3 separate regions of the Homo sapiens genome follow, and all the other regions are linked to region 2. The links are contacts of gene promoters, found by promoter capture Hi-C in human tissues and cell types (Jung and others, 2019). All regions are on one chromosome and are shown on one strand. The core of a region is centred on a gene start or on the middle of the fragment in contact, and the rest is flanking DNA. Distances in the headings are between cores, read along the strand shown. Region 1 overlaps CAGE1 (cancer antigen 1). Region 2 holds the start of DSP (desmoplakin). Region 3 overlaps CAGE1 (cancer antigen 1).

Evidence for each region. Contacts are between HindIII fragments. The study calls those that stand out against the background at their distance.
Region 1: a contact is called between a fragment that was not itself captured here and the fragment with the promoter of DSP in region 2, in 1 of the 25 tissues and cell types used here (neural progenitor cells).
Region 3: a fragment that was not itself captured here is called in contact with the fragment with the promoter of DSP in region 2 in 2 of the 25 tissues and cell types used here (liver and mesendoderm cells).

The regions. Positions count from the first base shown.
Region 1 is chr6:7,384,243-7,386,942 of GRCh38, forward strand. It overlaps CAGE1 (cancer antigen 1), which reads right to left. Exons shown (of 14, transcript NM_001170692.2): 3 at 1,543-1,630. Among named protein-coding and RNA genes, the nearest start is that of CAGE1, 4.1 kb to the right of the region's middle. The HindIII fragment of the contact is 6,466 bases long and covers 1-2,700 here.
Region 2 is chr6:7,540,221-7,542,920 of GRCh38, forward strand. DSP (desmoplakin) reads left to right here and starts at 1,451. Exons shown (of 24, transcript NM_004415.4): 1 at 1,451-1,865. The coding sequence starts at 1,696. DSP-AS1 (DSP antisense RNA 1) reads right to left here. Exons shown (of 2, transcript NR_183331.1): 2 at 231-833. The HindIII fragment of the contact is 11,377 bases long and covers 1-2,700 here.
Region 3 is chr6:7,340,187-7,342,886 of GRCh38, forward strand. The region is part of intron 11 of CAGE1 (cancer antigen 1); the gene reads right to left. It also overlaps the pseudogene ACCSLP1. Among named protein-coding and RNA genes, the nearest start is that of SSR1, 28 kb to the left of the region's middle. RefSeq lists a silencer at 2,225-2,387. The HindIII fragment of the contact is 7,681 bases long and covers 1-2,700 here.

The DNA.
Region 1 (2,700 bases), core at 15-2,514, 160 kb before region 2:
AATTTTTTGTATTTTTAGTAGACACGGGGTTTCACCATGTTAGCCAGGATGGTCTCGATCTCCTGACCTCGTGATCCGCCTGCCTCGGCAGCGCTTATTTTTCTTACACCTGCATGTATTAAATTCCATAATTTCAATAAGCCTTGTCAAATCTTTTCATTTTAGTATTATTTGCAAGTATTAAAAATAAAGACATTTGTATACAGCATTTAGATTTACTTTAATAAACATGATCAGTGTAGGGCCCGGTGTGGTGGCTGATACCTGTAATCCCAACACTTTGGGACACCGAGGCAGGAGACTCACTTGAGCCCAGGAATTTGAGACCAGCCTGGGCAGCATAGTGAGATCCATTTCAAAAACAAAACCAAAAACATGATCAATGTATCTCATTATATGATTAAATCCTAAATAGCTTTCATCTGTCAATTTAGGATTAGAATAACAGATTTGGGGTTAAATCAACACACAGCTCTCTTTTTTTTTTTTGAGACAAGGTCTCACTATGGTTGCCCATGCTGCAGTGCAGTGGCGTGATCTCGGCTCACTGCAGTCTCAGCCTCCCGCGCTCAGGTAATTCTCCCACCCAGGCCTCCAAAATGGACCACGATGCCTGGCTAATTTTTTGTATTTTTAGTAGAGACGGGGTTTCGTCCTATTGCCCAATCTGATTTCAAACTAGTGGACTCAAGCAATCCTTCTGCCTTGGCCTCCCAAAGAGCTGGGATTACAGGTGTGAGCCACTGTACCTGGTGTTTTTTGTTTGTTTTGGTTTTTTTTGAGATGGAGTTTCGCTCTTGTTGCCCAGGCTGGAGCGCAATGGTGCAATCTCGGCTCACAGCAACCTCCACCTCCTGGGTTCAAGGGAGTCTCCTGCCTAAGCCTCCCAAGTAGCTGGGATTACAGGCATGCACCACCACACTCAGCTAATTTTGTATTTTTACTGGAGACGGGGTTTCTCCATGTTGGTCAGGCTGGTCTTGAACTCCCGACCTCAGGTGATCCACTTGCCTCAGCCTCCCAAAGTGCTGGGATTACAGGCGTGAGCCACCGTGCCTGGCCCCCGCTTTTTTTTTTTAAGAGACAGGTTCTCCTTCTGTTGCCCACTGGAGTGCAGTGACATGATCATAGCTCATAACAGCCTTGGACTTCCTGGCTCAAGCAATCCTCCTGCCTTGGCCTTCCAAAGCACTGGTATTATAGATATGATCCACCACACCCAACCTCAATACACATTTAAGGATACTTGTATAGTAGAAAATTTTTGTGTCTGAGTCTGAGACTTGATCACGGCTCATTCATTTAAAGCTACACAATCCTGGGCAAGTTACTCTCTGAGCCTTATTTTCCTTATCTGTAAAATGAAGATAAAAACAGCCCTTACTTCAATTTTTTAAAATTCTTATTTCAATAAGATTTTTTTGTGGATTAAGTGTGATGATGTATATAAAGTGCTTAGCACAAAACCTGGCTATTGTTACTATCACGGAACACAAAAAAAAGTTTCTCTCTTTTGCATATTGCTAACAAGTAGATACTTACCATTTAACAAATTGTCTAGTGTGCCATAAGCATCTTCACAAAGTGTGGATTCATACTCATTTTCCCTTTCAAAATTCTTTATTTCGTTCTGTATTAATAAAAAAGGCATCAATACTTCAAGCAAACATCACAAGCTTCTTCTAAAGGTATTTGCACATTGTTACATAATTCTGCTATTAGAATATTTCATTACATAGGTAGAATGTGCTTTCTAGTATCTTTCCCCAGCATGTATTTGGCTCCCTTTTAGTAAAACTATGCTAACAGAGTCCCAATATTAAACAACAATGTAACAAATAGCTTGTTATTTTAATATTTTGGTTTTTTGGTAAGTCAAATCATGTGACTATAAACTTAGGGATACGTGATAGCATATTTATGTATTGATAATTATTTGATGTTTATTAAATCTAGTCTAAACAGCATTAAGATGGTTATTTCAGTCTTTTAACACTGAAGATATATAAAACAGGCATATATCTTTGATGTATTTTTATAAATTCCTATTTAGTGGAATCAGATGTCACTGACTATCAAACGTTTAGCACAACACTCATGAAGATATTGGGACATTACAATCTTTTATTTTTTAATAAAGGGAGCTAGGCATTTTCATGAAGACAGGAAAGTTGTCATTTATATGCAGGGTGCTGTCAATGTCATTATGAATGACAACTGAATCATTTGCATACTGATGTAAGTGGAAGATGCATTAGACTAGAAGTCAGGTTCCTTGGGCTCTTGTCCTGCCTCTGACTGAATTGGTCACGTCCCCTGGCTGCACTCCTGGCTAGAAAGGATCAGTTTTAACACTGTGTGTAAAAATGTACCTTGCTCTCTCGCATAGGCTGGAGTGCAGTGGCGCGATCTTGGCTCCCTGTAACCTCTACCTCCCAGGTTCAAGTGATTCTCCTGTCTCAGCCTCCAGAGTAGCTGGGATTACAGGTGCTCGCTTCCATGCCTGGCTAATTTTTATATTTTTAGCAGAGATGGGGTCTCACCATGTTGCCCAGGCTGGTCAAAATGTATCTTACGCTAGCGAAACTGGGAAAACCAGACCCTGTATTCCCCTCCTTTATGTGTCCACCGAATATTGTTTTATTGTTCCTTATAGTTTTGAAGAAATTTTCATATGGAAGACAATGTGAATTCTGAATA
Region 2 (2,700 bases), core at 201-2,700:
ATGTGTTTACTCCTTGAATTTAAGACGTTCAGCTGTAAAAAGAAAAAGAACAAGACATTTTGTCAAAAATTATGCCTAAAGGGTCAAGTTGTCATGAGAAGTGCTATAATACGACAAATTTTAGAAAGTCCCCCCCACTCCCTTTACAACATAAAAATGTAGTTTTTTATTTTTGTTTTCAGTTCATAAACATTTTGGAAACGCACTGTATCAGAAGGTAATTAGCGGCATTGTTTGGAAAGATGAAAAATTTATTAGAAAAGATCTTTAAATGGCTTTTACTAAAGCGTCATTTAACAATTTTTCATATTATAGAAACAGCTTTTCATGGATGGTGTGACTGGGTCTGTATCCAAACCCGGTTCGGTTCCTGGAGCCAACGGCGTAGTTAACACTCAGCCTCTTGCAGTTAACACTCAGCCTCTTAACTGGGAGTGGCCCTGGAGCAAGTCGCTGGAATGTTCAAGCTCCGCGTCACTCATCGGTACCAAGTTGATGATCTCTGCCTAGGGTTCTTCGCCACCCTCAGGCTCAAGTCCCAGGAGGCCTCCTCCGCTGACTTGGGTGAACAGCTCTGAGTTCCGGAGAGGGTTCGGTCTGCGGAGAAGCGCGCGAGAGACAAGCATCCTCAAGGTTCTGGTACAAAATTTGGAAAATGGACCTGGCGTTGAAATCTTTACTCCTCGTTTAAAAAGACCATCGAAAGGGAAAAAATAAAAGAAATTGCAGTTTATATTTTTGTTATCCCATGAAAAATTAGCTGCAGTGTTTTCCTCTTCATGCCAAAGAGATTAATATTTACGGTGAAGACTTTTCCAGGAAGTCGTGGTTTTCTGTAAAAAAAGGTTTTACACATCAGAAATCGGACTTCTGGGGCAATTTCCTGAATTCCTGGAATAAAACAAAACAAAAAAAAGCCCCCAAACAAAACTCTATCATCTAAAGCGTTCCCTCCTCACTGTGGTCCTAGTCAATGCGTGGTAGGTAGCGTTTCCAGTGATCAACAAAAGTAAATATTTGACCAGTAAGTCTCCAATCGAGAGGCCCCTCCATTCCAGCTATTTCCGCCCGGGGACCGAGGAAATCCTCAAAAGCCGGGCCACGCATTCCCAGCCCGAGAGGCCCCAGCGCAGAGCGCAGCAGCCCCCGCGAGCGCAGGTCCTCCCCGCGGTGGCTTCGCCCAGGGCGCTTGGGTCTCGGGGACCCCGCCCCCGCCCCGCCCGGTGTTACTCAGGCCTCGGTGGCGCAGGGCGGAGTCGCGGGCGGCGGGCGCAGGTGGGGAGGGGCGGCCGGAGCGCGTCGGTGACACCCGCGGGGGGGCGGGGAAGGCGCGGCGGCCGCACCCCACCCTGGGAAGAAACCGGCCAGGTGTGGCCTAGGCGCCCAGTGCCAGCGGGGAGGAGACTCGCTCCGCCGCCGACCAACACCAACACCCAGCTCCGACGCAGCTCCTCTGCGCCCTTGCCGCCCTCCGAGCCACAGCTTTCCTCCCGCTCCTGCCCCCGGCCCGTCGCCGTCTCCGCGCTCGCAGCGGCCTCGGGAGGGCCCAGGTAGCGAGCAGCGACCTCGCGAGCCTTCCGCACTCCCGCCCGGTTCCCCGGCCGTCCGCCTATCCTTGGCCCCCTCCGCTTTCTCCGCGCCGGCCCGCCTCGCTTATGCCTCGGCGCTGAGCCGCTCTCCCGATTGCCCGCCGACATGAGCTGCAACGGAGGCTCCCACCCGCGGATCAACACTCTGGGCCGCATGATCCGCGCCGAGTCTGGCCCGGACCTGCGCTACGAGGTGACCAGCGGCGGCGGGGGCACCAGCAGGATGTACTATTCTCGGCGCGGCGTGATCACCGACCAGAACTCGGACGGCTACTGGTGGGTACCTGCCCGGAGAGCGCGGGCTGCGGGGCTCGCGGGACAGGGAGGGACCGTCCTCCTCTGGACGACTGGGAGACTCGGGTCCCGAAGGTGGAAAGGTTTTTTTGCCCCAGGTCCCGAAAGAACTTCCCGGCCGCGCTGGGAGCAGGACCGGGTGTCCTGACGCGTGCGGGGACAGGTTGGCCCCTGTCCTGCGAACAGGGACTCGGTCGTACCTTTCTCCCCTCCCGCGAGCCCGGGCGGGTGGTCAGAGGGGGCGTCGGGCCCGCGCGGGGCTGTCCCCTGCCTGCTGGACACGGCTGCAGCCGCCTTTGTCCCAGCCCGCGAATGGGAGGTCAGGCGAGGTGGGGCTGCGACCACAAAACCCAACCTCTCCAACCGTAATCAAAGTAAAAGAGGAAAGGAGCGGGGCCCCGGTCCTGTCTGGTGGCCGAGTGGTGCTCGGGGCTCCGCAGTCTCTACCGGCTCACCCCCAATCCCCAGTAACCCCGAGACCACGACTGCAACGACTCCTGGACTCCTCGGCCACCCAAGGACGTTTGTATCAAGGCTGCGCGTCCCGGCGGCGCGGGGTCCTGTCCCGAGGAGGCGCTTCGGCTTCCCCTGTCCGGGAAACGAAACTTCCCCGCCGGGGCGGCTGCCGGGCCCGGGTCTCGAAGTTCGGCCGGGACGTGCCTGTTACCTTCGGTCGTCCGCGCCGCAGCCCCCGCGGGCGAGCGCACCTGGGGCCCTGCCTCTGAGCCTTTTGTTTCCTCCTTTTTAAAAACACCGGATGAAAGACCCCAGTGTGCCTTGGATCGCAGAGCGCCGGCCGCATGTCTGCTTTGATCCA
Region 3 (2,700 bases), core at 188-2,687, 200 kb before region 2:
TTCATACGTTTGTTGGCCATTTCCATATCTTCTTTTAAGAATTGTGTATTCATGTCCTTAGCCCACTTTTTGATGGGATTGTTTTTTTCTTGTTAATTTGTTTGAGTTCCTTGTAGATTCTGTATATTAGCCCTTTGTCAGATGTACGGAGTGTGAAGATTTTCTCCCACTCTGTGGGTTGTCTGTTTACTTTGCTGATTATTGCTTTTGCTGCGCAGAAACTTTTAATTAAGTTCCACCTATTTATCAGTTTTTTAAGAGAACATAGAATTTATTAGATATTGAATATAAAAATAAACCATCTAAATAGGGGCCCAGGGAGCTTCCTTTATTTCTGTAGGTGCCTCCAGGCCTTCCCACCCCAACCCCAATAAAAACATTTTGCATATATAATATCTAGCAAACACTAAAAAGATGCAAAGCTTCCAAAGACAGCAGGCACTCAGCTTAAGGAGGGTGATGACTGGGTCAGATGAGATCTTCCTGGAGGAGCCCACAATTTTCTTAGTTGCAGCACTGACAAAAATACACCCCAGGCTTCTGGACCAGGGGCTGACATTAGGGGGTCCCTGAGCAAGTGATGGGCTAGAGCTACTCGTTGGGAGGCAGACAGTCTACTCCCTCAATGCATCTTCCAACTGCTTCACTAGCAAAGCCTGCTTCTGTTCCTGCAGCACACCACAGAACTGATGTATGGCCAATTTTAGCCGGGGGGAGCTCGTCTGCAAAGATGAGGTGGAACCGGCCTGGCTCCTTATACATACAGGCTTTGCCACAGGATAACAACAGCTTGTTGTCCAGGAAGCGGAGAGAGGAGCTGTTGCTCTTCAAATGTACAGGGATCCAGGTACTTTTTCAAGTTGATCCAGATATAGAGGCCAGAGCTGCAGCTGTGAAAGGGGATCTCCAATGCCTTTAGCTTGGCAGTGATGTACTTGTGAGCTTCCCACAGCCGGTAGTTATTGGTGGGCAGGTACACTTTGTCAATCCATTCTGTGTTCTGGAGCAGTTGACACAGCTTGTGCTAGGTGATGCCAGAGATACTGTGGAGGTAGCCAAAGGTGCTCACAGCAGAAGCCATCTCCTTGTGGTGGGTGTAAACAGAGTACCAAAGAGGAAGCCAGAGATGCCAAAATCCTTACTGGTGTCCCAGATCACATGGGTCCTGTTGTGATCAGGCAGACTTTTCATGCTTAGGACACTGTGGAATGTGATGGATTCATCAAAAACACAGATAGCATGTAAATCTCATCTATGATCACATGTAGGTTATACCTCTTGGCAAATTCCAGGTATTCCATCGCGAGTCTGAGGAGTAGATGTCACCCAGAAGATTCTGAGGGTTGATTAGCACAAGGCCTCGGACCTTTTTCCTCTCAGGCCTAGCTTTAAGCAGGGCTTCCTCTAACTTGTCCACAGCAAGGTGGAACAGATGGGTGTTTGCAACAGTGATCTCACTCTCCAGGTGGACAGGAATCAACTCAACCTTCACGTACAGGCAGGAGCTAAAGTCAAAGCCACTATAGAAGGGAGCAGGCGCCAGGAAGGCCTCGCTTGGATCACACAGAACCATGGCCAGTGCAGAGAAGACAGAGCAGCAGCCATTTAGAACAACCACATTTTCTGGATCAAGTCGGGCAGGTGCCTTGCACTAGTAGGTCAGGAACTGGGCCACTTCTTCTTGCAGGAACGGGTGCCCTCTCCAATCAGGGTACTGCAGCAAGATGTCCTCAATGCCGTTCGTGTCACTTTCTTGCAATCTTTCAGTCATCAGATCTATGCAGAGCTTGTTCTCACTGGTGCCAAGGTTAACGAAGCTCAAGGTGTTCTTGTCCTTATGATATTTGTCTTTTTGGTAGGCATTGTAGTCCTGGAAGCTCGACTAATAGAAGACAGAGATGTCAATCCCACAGTTGGATAGGTCACGGCTGATGAAGGCAGCTTCACAATCACTCAGTTGGGGAACTGGATCAGGCTGCCTGGACAGTTGGGCCCCCTGCCCATATCTGACATCACCCCTAGAGTCCTGGGAAGGAAGAGGCACTTGGAGCTCCAGGCCACTTATGGCCCCAGACTATAGGAGCTGGATCATCTGGCACATTAAGCGACCCAGAAGGGCTTCATGCTCACGGATGGCCTGAGTGTGCCTCCATTCTTCCAGCGGCAGGGCCCTGCCTGCTCATCAGCTGCATGAAGTACTCCCTCATGGTCTACCGCAAGTGCAGCATCATCTCAACAGCTGGGTATAGATGCTCTGGTCTCTGAGGACCTGGCCTCTCATCTGGCCAGATGGCACAGGAAGGGTGTCTGACTGATGACTCATACTCCGGGTATCTGTAGTGGCTCCTGCAGGCTGGCTGTCACCTCTGTCTCTGTTTTCACTTATCTTCTCTCCAGTCTAAAGCCTCACTGAACAAACTGTCCTTGACTGTCAGTGCTCAGGGAACTGCTCTGCCACCCTTCTCCTCAATGAATGTGTTAATCATTGTTTTTGTTGCATTTGCTTTTGGGTTCTTGGTCATGAAGTCTTTGCTTAAGCCAATGTCGAGAAGGGTTTTTCTGATGTTATCTTCTAGGATTTTTATGGTTTCAGGTCTTAGATTTAAGTCCTTGATCCATCTTGAGTTGATTTTTGTATATAAGTTGAGAGATGAGGATCCAGTTTCATTCTTCTACATGTGGCTTGCCAATTATCCCAGC